Regions from separate parts of the Homo sapiens genome. Here region 1 is linked to region 2. Evidence: promoter capture Hi-C in human tissues and cell types (Jung and others, 2019). All regions are on one chromosome and are shown on one strand. Each heading gives the region's core, a stretch centred on a gene start or on the middle of the fragment in contact. The rest is flanking DNA. Distances are from core to core; before and after follow the strand shown.

The links. Contacts are between HindIII fragments. The study calls those that stand out against the background at their distance.
Region 1: a contact is called between a fragment that was not itself captured here and the fragment with the promoter of COA5 in region 2, in 1 of the 25 tissues and cell types used here (dorsolateral prefrontal cortex).

Annotation. Positions count from the first base shown.
Region 1 is chr2:98,929,369-98,934,836 of GRCh38, reverse strand. The region is part of intron 1 of CRACDL (CRACD like); the gene reads left to right. Among named protein-coding and RNA genes, the nearest start is that of CRACDL, 4.1 kb to the left of the region's middle. The HindIII fragment of the contact is 5,395 bases long and covers 971-5,468 here.
Region 2 is chr2:98,606,039-98,611,781 of GRCh38, reverse strand. COA5 (cytochrome c oxidase assembly factor 5) reads left to right here and starts at 3,270. Exons shown (of 3, transcript NM_001008215.3): 1 at 3,270-3,475. The coding sequence starts at 3,377. UNC50 (unc-50 inner nuclear membrane RNA binding protein) reads right to left here and starts at 3,193. Exons shown (of 6, transcript NM_014044.7): 1 at 3,056-3,193; 2 at 1,743-2,026; 3 at 887-1,007. The coding sequence starts at 2,022. RefSeq lists a silencer at 2,966-3,065 and an enhancer at 3,129-4,118. The HindIII fragment of the contact is 3,715 bases long and covers 1,670-5,384 here.

The sequences.
Region 1 (5,468 bases), core at 2,419-4,918, 320 kb before region 2:
AAAAATGTGAGATTTTGTACATTAGGGATTTTTGTATTTGTTTTGATGTTTTAAAATATTGTAATAAGGCATTTATCTGACTGCATTTTTGGTACCCCCTTAAATTTTGTGCCTGTAGTGAGTACCTGGCTTGCCTGAGTCTGATTCTGGACCTCCTCCACGAGTCAAGTTCTTACTCTCTAAGCATCTGTTTCCTCACTTATAAAATAAAGTGTACCATCCATGGATGCTGCGCAGCTCAGCTGCTGCATAGGATGCGTCATGTGGGGCTCACTAACGGGTGGCTGTCCTGCTGAGATCACTGCTCTGCTTGGCCCTCTTAGGCTAGTTAAGATGAATCTTGGCTGGGCGCGATGGCTCACACTTGTAATCCCAGCACTTTGGGAGGCCGAGGCAGGTGGATTGCCTGAGGTCAGGAGTTCGTGACCAGTCTGGCCAACGTGGTGAAGCCCTGACTCTACTAAAAATACAAAACAAAAATAGCCAGGTGTGGCGCCTGTAATCCAGCTACTCGGGAGGCCGAGGCAGGGGAATTGCTTGAACCAGGGACGTAGAGGTTGCAGTGAGCTGAGATGGCACCACTGCACTCCAGCCTGGGCAGCAGAGTGAGGCTCAGTCTCAAAAAAAAAAAAAAAAAAAAAGGATGAATCTTGACCAATCTCAGTGCACCATTCAGGGAAATGAGAGCAGTGATAGTGCTATGGTTTGAATGTTTGTGTCCCCCCAAAAATTCATATGTGGATTCCTAATCCTCAAGGTGATGGTATTAAGAGATGAGGCCTTTGGGAAGTGATAGGTCATGAATGGGCTTGGTGCCCTTATAAAAGAAGCGCAAGGAGCTCGCTCGTCCCTTCCACCATGTGAGGACACTGTGAGGAGGCGCCTTCTATGAGGAATGGGCCCCCACCAGACACCCAACCTGCCAGTGCCTTGATCTTGGACTTCCAGCCTCTGGAACTGCAAGGAATAAATGTCTGTTGTCTATGAGCTGCCCGGTTTATGGTATTTTGTTATAGCAGCTGAAATGGACTCAGCTGGCCAGCCCTCAGGGATGCTCTTGGTTAAATGAGAGAATAGATGTGAAGGTACCAGGCCTCCAGGAGGGTGGGTTTTCTGTGATGTCCTGGTGGGCCTGGATTTGACTTAGCTACCTTGCAGTCACTGGCTCTTCCCCTGCAGGCTGGCTCCGTGCCTTGTCATGCAGTTGCTTGTTGTGCACATAAATACTGCTTGTGTTGCAGGTGGACTCTCTGGGTGGAAACCTGCCCAGGGTTTATTGTGGAAAGGTGCAAAATTTTGTGTAAGTGAGCTTGATTTTGCTGTCCCTAGTGAAGTCCCTTGGTTCCCTTTTTCATATACTCAGTTCCCAGTGCATGGTTCTGTTTTTCTAGAGCCTAATTCAATGGTATTATTTCAGTCACTATTTAGCTTAAAGGTAGCTTCGTCCCTGGTGGGAGTCAGTCTCTCAGTCTTTCCACGTTACTCCTCGGGGACCCCTTTTCGCTACAAGTCACCCCTGGGCACCAGGAGAGGGTTGTAGTCCCATCAGAGCTTGAGGGGAGTGGCCCTGACTGGTCATCTGGTCCTCTTGCGGTGCCCCAGTGAGTCCCTTTCCCCTCCACATGGAGCCTCCGGCTCACATTTCCATCATTGTCCAGCTGGTGTCCCCAGGGTGAGCCACAGCGGGGACCTGGCTCTTCCATTGGCCCAGAGGTCCCCATGCTCTGAGGTCTCTTCTGGGCCCCTATTGGGCACCTGGGAGCCCGCCCAGGTTGTGCGGAACCGTACTAGGCCTCCATTTCTACTGTTCTGAGCTCGGCCTTCCCTGAGTTCCCACAGGAAGCAGGACAAGAACGCCCCCTCAGCCCCACCCCTGCTCCTCCAGGTGGGGTGCACAGCGGTAGGTGCTCAGTGCCTGGGTTCATGTCCCAGACCCAGAAGGCATTTTTCTACCTGTGGGGCAGGGCTGTTTCTTAGGTTCTGTCTTCTGTCCTCTGCACATCATGGCTTTGGGGAGAGCTCTAGGCTCCAGCTTCCAGGCTTTGCCCTTGATACATAAAAGGAAGTTTAAAATATCTCTGTATTCACCACTGTCTTGGGTAAAGTGTGCTAGGCCTTTTTATTACCTGAAAAAGACTGGGAGAGCCGTCGGGGCTGCTGGAGACTTCAGTCAGGGCTGGGAGAAGGCAAGGAAGGAGTAGCTGGCAGCGGCGTTGCGGGGATTGAATGGCTTTCTGCGTACACAGCCCGGCCCACTGTCATGGGGATGGGCGTCTTCCAAACCACCGTTCCTATTTATGCTGTTGCTGCCTCATCATCAGAGCAACCCCCTGTGTGCTTGGCACTCACTACAAGCCGGAAAGGTCCGAGTCATAATTGCTGCTTCTGGTGAATAAGATGAGCCCTTGTCAAGCCTGTACCTGCAAGCCTGAGCCCTGGATTTAGTTCACACTCAGTTCACACTGGATTTGGAAGGGGAGGTAATCAGGGGAAGCTTCTTGGAGGAGGTGGAACTTAAAGTAACAACTTGGCCACATGGATGTGAGATGCAAGAGAACTGCCTTTGAAAGGGAGACAGGCCGGCCCGGCCTGGTGTTCACAGGCCCACCTGTGGCTTGATGCTGGCTGGTGTCCCGCCGATCTCTTCTGTTGTCTAGATACCTGCAAACACCGGTACTGCTGGTGTCACCTGTGGGTAGGACAACACAGACAGCCAGCGTTCAAAATCCTTCTGTTTTCCCCAAACTGAACGGAAATCAGGAGAATTCTCATCAAATAATGCTCTTTCTAGATCTCTGTGTCTGGAAAATAACTTCAAAACTTTAGGTCAGATTAAGAGTCCTTAAGACACATTTATGATTTTGACAAATTACCTTGAAGATATTTGTATTGCTTTTAAGGGGGTCTAACCCATAATCCTGAGCCAAGTGGATAATGAACTAGAGATGCTGTTTCTGTCGGTGCCCAGTGAATTTAGCAGTGAAATGATGGGAAATGATAAGACAGGCATGTGATGTAACAGGGCACCTCCTGAGCAGCGTCAGCCACCAGCTTTTCACAGGCTCAGATACCATTCTGGAGGAGACTGCTGGTAGGAAGGATTCTCAGACATTTTTCTTATGATCTGGGTATCTGTGAAAGGAAATTATGGAAGTTCGTTTTGAAAAGTGCAGATGGAAAGGTATTTATTTGCTCAGGCCTTCTCCTGGCTGTGGTGTGTGGGGCTGGTTTTTAACTGTGTGTAGCTGAAGAACTTCCAGAAATATTTGCCTTAACCTCTGAGGTCCATACACCAGTCTCTCCATGGTTTCTGCCCTCAAATTCTCATGTCTGTGGGAAGCACCAGAACCATTAGCTGCGGGGTGTGCAGTTTCCAAGAAACTACTCTCGGAAACACTGCCCCATATGTGGGAGGAGAAAATGTCAGAGAGGTTGCCTTCTTTTTAAAGCAGTTGGTCCAGTCAAGGTCAGGGGAGTCAGGCTCTAGTGTCTTTTTTTTTTTTTTTTTTTTTGAGATGGAGTCTTGCTCTGTCGCCCAGGCTGGAGTGCAGTGGCGCGATCTCTGCTCACTGCAACCTCTGCCTCCTGGGTTCAAGGGATTCTCTTGCCTCAGCCTCCTGAGTAGCTGGGATTACAGGTGCCTGTCACCACACCTGGCAAATTTTTGTATTTTTAGTAGAGACGAGGTTTCTCCATGTTAGCCAGGCTGGTCTCGATCTCCTGACCTCAAGTGATCCACCCACCATGGCCTCCCGAAGTGCTGGGATTACAGGCGTAAGCCACCATGCCCAGCCCAGGCTCTGGTTTCTGCTGTGCCACTTAGAAGTCCTGCAACCTCAGTCACCCCTTAGATGGGGTGGGGGGGTGGTAGACACACACACACACACACACACATACATGAGCATTACATGAGGTGCTGTATGACAAACATAGAAAATGCTCCATAAATTATTTATAGGTATTACTCTCTTATTGTCTTTCTTGTAAGACGGTTAAAGGGCATTTGTTATAACTACCAGTTAGGACCCCTACTAATAATGTTCCCTAAAGCAATAAAGGGTCCTTCCATAACTGAGATCTGATGGCATTTAAGGAAAATGAGCATAACTGCCATACACAGTGCTCCTGAGCACAGCTGCTGGTGGAAGCTGTCATGTGGGGAACAACCTTGACGCAATTTAGAACACACAGGGAGAAGCGAGGGGACGGAAGAGGGGTAGGTGACACAGGACAGGGGTGGGACAGAGATGGGGTAGGTGATATAGGTAGGATAGGGTGGGGTCAGAGATGCAGTAGGGGACACAGGACAGAGGGTGGGGATGGGGATGGAGTAGGGGACACAGGACAGAGGGTGGGGACGGGGATGGGGTAGGGGACACGGTACAGAGGGTGGGGACGGGGATGGGGTAGGGGACACGGTACAGAGGGTGGGGACGGGGATGGGGTAGGGGACACGGTACAGAGGGTGGGGACGGGGATGGGGTAGGGGACACGGTACAGAGGGTGGGGATGGGGATGGGGTAGGGGACACGGTACAGAGGGTGGGGACGGAGATGTGGTAGCTGGAAAGCATCCGTGTGTCCTGTCTTGCTCTGCAGCATCCGCCTTCCCCACTAATGTGTGAGGAGAAGGACCTGACTTGAAGCACTTGCATGGGGGCCACGGATGGGAGGTGCCCTGGGCCAAGACATACGCCCCGTCGTGTTGGAGAGACACAGGGATGGTTCTGCCCTGCCACGTCTGGGCTCACTAGTGAGTGTGTTGAACAGCCTTGGATTCAGAGGACCAGCATTGGGTCACCAGTGGGGAAGCGAATTTTGAGGGAATATCAGGTTCCTCTGGGTAACTGGTCCCGTGCATACAAATGTATCGTGGTATCGAGCACCTTTTCCATGTCGAATGTATCGTGAGTCTTTGCTGCCCAGCTGCCTTGGGTCCATGTGGTGCTTCATGAATACTAGGTGTCTTAGAGCTCGTATCTCCTCCTCTGTTTGATATACACCTGCTCTACTTCCTATTTATCTCTACTTGACATATCCTATGAGATTCACCCATTGCGTTTGTTGTTTTTTTCTTCAAAATTGAATGTTCCCAAACAATTTGACAAATGCCCCTTATTGAAGACACTAAACTCGTCCCTGAGAATGGGTTTTGAGATTGGGCATAGTTTTGTGAAGCCATCATCCCATCCAGATGGGGGAGCCTGCCGTGCCTGGGGCATTCTGGGACCAGGTGTGGGTCTGTAGAGGTTCGCGAAGCTTTGCTTACACTCACTTCAGGTCCACAGACACTGAACTGTGTGCTCAGGGATGGTTTCTTCCCCTGGCTCCTCAGGACAGAGACATGACCAGAGAGGCGGCTCCCCCGTCCCACTGTAGATGCTGCTTGGAGTCTGAGGCATACTGGGCTGCTCTCTGGGCTCTTGGTCTGATTACAACTCTGCGACTACACACAAGGTCTGCACCAGA
Region 2 (5,743 bases), core at 2,021-4,520:
CTCTATTGACAAATGCAGAAAACCATGCTATCATCCAGACAACTTAAGCAGAACTGGCTAAATCTGTAATATTTTTGCAAAACCAGGCATTTTGTTAGTATGCAGAAAATAAATCTCGGGACCCCAAAATCACTAAGCCAAAGGGAAAAGTCAAGCTGGTAACTGTGTCAGGCAAACTTGCCTCCTATTTTATTCCTAAGATAGCTTATCTTTACAGGTGTGGGACAGAAAGTCCTCCTTCTACTCACCTGAGACAAGTGTTTATCTGATTGCTTCCTCTGCCCCATTGTTTATGTAAAAATGCAGACTCACTGAGCCAGATTAAGGCATAAATGACTATTCCTGTACCTGCCTCTCACAAGTAAATTGTGTATTCAGTGAAAGGCAGATCAAAGACTCAAAAGAATGCAACCATTTGTCTCTTATCTAACTGTAACCTGCCTTTCCCCACTTTCTGGATTAAAACAATGTACATTTTACACATATTGACTGATGTCTCAAGTCTCCCTAAAATGTATAAGAGCAAGCTGTGCCCCGACCACCTTGGGCACATGTCATCAGGACCTCCTAAGGCTGTGTCACAGGCATGTCCTTAACTTTGGCAAACTAAACTTTCTAAATTGAGACCGATCTCAGATATTTTGGGTTCAAAACATAATTATTTCAATTATTTGCTACATTTGACAATATTATAAACCAGCCTTTATAGTATTTTCTGATATAGGTGGCAACACAGGAGGGAAAATTGTAATAATCTTGGCAGTCAAAATTGATCATTTAGTAACTCTACCTGGGTTTCAATTTCCATCTGCTGCTATTGTACCTCTGAAGCAAACAAATGGAGATGCTACAGCAGTATCTGAAAAACCAAAGTTATGGTACTTACCACATTAAAGTTGCTATCAGAAGACCAACGCCTACACAATCTATGAGTACAACCCAAAGGAGAAGCTTTATTGTCTCAAAGAATCCCATGTCCAGCACAAAGCCAAATCCTATAGTGGACACTGAAAGAAAGATTCACAAGATTCATTTAGGGACTCTGCTAGGTTCTGGAAATACAGGACACATCCCTTGCCCTCCAGATGCCCAGGCTAGTGGGAGAGACAGGTCTTTAAACAAAACTCCCAAGATGTGTGAACACTACCTTGGGACACAGCGTGGCCACTGAGAGAGTTGAAGTTTCCTGAGGTGGGCCCTTGCCAGGCTGATTCACCACGGTGGCCTCAGTATTTAGAACGCCAGTGTAGAGAAGGCACTAACATAGTTTAAGTCCAGTTAAGGTGCAAAACACCCTATAAACTTCAATATCTTACCCACTTCAACACCCTACAGGTAAATGAGACCCTTGCATTATGGAATTGGAGAACTTCAGTTTCTCAGGTTCCCATCAATACCTTTACAATTCTCACTGTGGATTTGCCTGTGAAATGCAATTTCCAGTTTCATATTCCTATTCACAGTCAGCTGACATTTGGGTACCGATTCAAGTACTTAAAAAGATATGGAGTGAATCTTGTCCCCTGCTTTTCAATGTCCTAGGGTAACAGTTTACTCTGGCATCTGCTTGGGACCTGTAGAACCAAGACTACAACTTTCTTTCCTGTGAGATTTTTTGAGGCTTCAGTAAAAAGGAGAAATAGTTTCCAATATTTCCAGATTCTGACCCACAACACATTTATAACAAAAAATCTAATCAGAAACACTCAGCGTTCAATTCTATCTCAGATAAACACACTTACCACAGAGCCAGATACTTAACAGGACCAAGAAAGCAGGGTCATCTCTGGCCCACTGGTCCTTCGTCTGTTTTCGATAATGAAAATTTCTGTAAACTCTCTGTGGGGATGTGAACAGGTAGAGCATCTGCCAGGCAGCAAATTCAAAGTCCATTTGCCGAAAGCGGAAAAGCCTTCTCAGATATTTGTAGCGTTTCGCTCCGGCTGTGTGTCTTGCCGCATCCCTGGAATTCAAGACTCCGTTCCCCTGCACTAAGGAATTCACTGAAGTACTCGGTAACATCTTCCTAGATGGAAGAAAAACATTTCTTTTACACGTATTCTGAAGAAACATTTGGCTACCGACACTCCTCTTCTGAGTTATTTGGCAGGGAGGTCACTTTCCATGTTCTTCCCAACCCTAGAGAAAGGCCAGGAGTCAAAAGCAAATGCAGTTAGTTCTGAGGCGGGTCTTGGGGCTTGGGAACCGCAGACTGCAACCTCAGGCAAGGGCAACAGCCCACCCTTCTGAATCACCTAATAACACTTATCCAGGGGCAGCTACCATTACAGAGACAGGGATGATGTGACTGCCCCATGACTCCGAGGATAGTGATAGAGCCAAGATTGGAAATCTGACTCGAAATTCCGTGCTCTTAACCACCAAGCTTTTAAGAAAATGCCTAAGAAAGCAGTTTCAGCCGGTTAGAACAGTGTTACTGAAGAGGTCAAATAAATGGCCTATTCACACAGATCCATCAGCGCACTGCCAGCAAGCTTCTCGGTCACTAGAATGAGATTAAAAAACCAAGAAAAACTCCGATCCCTAGTGTTTTACATCCGGAATAGTTCAGCAGAGGGAGCGGTAGCGTCGGAGTCCAATCCAACCGGTCCGAGCTCCGGGGAACGCCGGCCACTGCCCGGCTGCCCGTCTCCCCTCCACTTCGCAGGCCCCCCAGACGCCGGCAGGGTCTGGCCGAGCCCAGCTGCTCCCTCCCTGCCCGGGGCCGCGGGTACGGCTGCCAGATTTAGCAAATAAAAACACAGAATACCCAGCTCCATTTGGATTTCAGACAGGCCACGAATAAGGTTTTAGTATGCCTACATCCCACGCAACATTTCGGACATGCTTATACTAAATGCTCTTTCTTTATCTACGATGCAAATGTAACTGGGCGTCCTTTCATTTTAGCCGCAACTCTATCGCCGGCCGAGGGGCCGGACGCCGACATGGTCACTGCCAGGCCGCAGCGACGTCAGGCCGCAAGCTGTCGGGATTAAATGGCCCCCGGCGCGAGCCCGGGCCGCGGGAGGGCAGAGTGGTCCTCAGGCCTCACCTGGAGTCCTGCTACAGCCTCGACCCACGTCCGAACCAGCCCACCACCTCCTCCCAGCAGCCGACCCCAGCCGCCACCGGGCGGGCTTCCCTTCCCTCAACGGAGCCGGCCCTTGGGGCGCGCCGCGTCACGGGAACCGACTTCCGCCGCGGACGCGCCACCTCTCGGCCCCCGTAGTCCTCGGCCCTACCGCCGCGGCCCGCCGGAAGTTGTTGCCGCTGGCTTCCGGTCCCCTGAGACTGGGGCCTCGCTCGCTCCCGACCCGGTTGCAAGTGTTGCGGTGGGAGAAAGTCGCGTCCGCATCGGAGGGGAAGCGCCGTCATGCCTAAGTATTATGAGGACAAGCCGCAGGGCGGCGCGTGCGCGGGCCTGAAGGAGGACCTGGGCGCGTGTCTGCTGCAGTCGGACTGTGTGGTCCAGGTAGCGCGGCCGGGCGCTCCCGGTGGTGACGACCCCTGTCCCAGGCAGGCCTGGCTCGGCGGAGGGCAGCGGGTCGCCCGCGGCGGCGGTTGGAGTTAACCATCCCGGGCGTAGGTCACAGCTCGGGCTCACTGAACGTGCGCAGATCCACTGAGCTGTCGGAGCCCCAGTTCCCTGTGGGGTTAAATCGGAGATAACGATAAACGCACCCTGTCGGGTTTTTGTAAAGGTTAACCCATTTCAGTTCACGAAGCCTTTATTGAATGCTAGCACTCTACTAGGCTTTGGAGACATAAAGGAGAATAAGCCAGGTTTCTTGCCTGCCTAGAAATGATAATCTGTAGAATTAATGATTCCAGAGAGTTGCGTAAACCTGGTACACTGCCCTGGCCAGTAGTGTCTCCTGCCTGTTCAGTTGTGACAATGTGTGCTCAGTTTGACTTGTGTTGATGTGAATTTGTTTCTGAGTTACAGTTCTCTGCATTCTTGGATGTTAAGTTGTAAAAATAAGGCAACTCCATATTTTCACGATTTCGTATCTTGCTTCCCCTACACTCTTCCTTCACTCCCCGGCTACAGACACAGGTCTCCTCAGCACCCTCTTGGAATGCACTGAAACATGTAGTGAGGTTCACAGTGGACCTGAGTTCTGGATTAGAGCTCAAGTAAAGCACAAGTGCCTTTTCCAATTGCAGAGGCCCGACGAGAGGGCATTCAATTGTGTGCAATTGTCTTTGCATTGGGGGATGTAGTTTCAGAAAGTTGCTGTTATTTCAGAGAAAAGATTACCCCCAAATGGACATCCACTGTAAGACTGTACCAGTGTTTCTACCGAGTCACAATTTGTTTGGTTCACTGATTTTAGCAGTCAGCCATTCTCGCCTCCCAATGTCTAGTAAAACTTGAGTTATTATAAATTTAAGAGATTATCTCGCCCAACTTCCTTATATAAATGAGGAAACTGAAGTACCGTTGTTTTCAGGCTCCCCTGTCCAGGGCTGTGTCCCTTCTGCCCCTTACTCACTGGTGCTGCCGTTCAGCCAGCTCCTGGTAAATGCCTCTTAAGTGGCAGGCATGGTACCTGACACTGGTGATAACGAAGATGAATCAGTAACAGTCACTACCCATGTAAGCTTGGTGTCATGGGAGAAATAGACATCTAAGGGTCTAAATTCCTGCCATAAGACTGTAAGCATTTATTAAACATGTGTTTAATGACTAGATCTTGAGGAGAAAAATGCGTTAGCCCAAGGGAGAGCGTCTGATTTTGCTTCAGAATTTGGAATCTTCTGAGATGACATTTGAGCTGAGTCTTAAAAGTTGAGTAGTAGTTTATCAAGTAAAGGAGTGGGAACTGTTGTGGTTGTGGGGAAAATCTGAAAGAACAGCAAGTGCAGAGGCAGGGAGATGTGGGAGGGCGCAGAGGAGCTAGTGTCCTGCCATAGGGGAATGCGACAGAAGGCCTGAGGGGAAGGTTGCAGCCAGGTGTGAAGGCCTGTATGTGTGTCAGAGTGAGGAGACTGGATTTTATCCAGACGTTCAGCATCGGAAGGCCATGTTGATGAGTAGTCAAGGGAAGAAAGTACACTGAGTAGGACTGAGGAAAGAAACTCCAAGTGGAGGACAATAGCAGCAGCACAGAGAATTCCAAGCTGGCTTTCTGCAGCGGTTGATACAGCAAACATGTACGGAGCGCCAGGCTCCAGTTCAGGGAACAAATACTGATGAATGGAACATGGTCTCTCCAGTATAGAAAGCGGAGCTGTTTGGCTAGAATGCTGTAGGCAGAGATTATGGTTGGGACAGCTGGTACAGACTTTGCTTTTCCCGCCATTGAATATGTGGCCTTACCAGTGCTCAGTTTGGTCAGCCAGAAAACGTGATGCTTATAAGCAGTTCTTTAGATGGAAGTTCGTATACAGTTTGTGTTAAATTCATTCTGAATGCTGACTTCAGCTGGATTGTAAAAGGGCAATAGTGAGGAGGTTTGCAGGTCCAGAACAATCTCCTACAATCTGTTGGCAGCTACTGCCCACTGCTCCTCACTGGGGACTCTGAAAGACCAAGGAAAGCTCTGCTGAGGTCTGTGCTTGCTCTGTGTGGCAACCTTAATTATGATGGAAATTTTTGATTTCTTAAGTTCTTGAATAAAAAGGTTAATCTGATCCTATGGCAGGTTGGTGCTGTAGTCTCTTCTTGCCAGTCTTTAACCCACCTGAAACCTGCAGCACCTCGCTCTAGGGAGGAATTCAACATAAACATGTATTT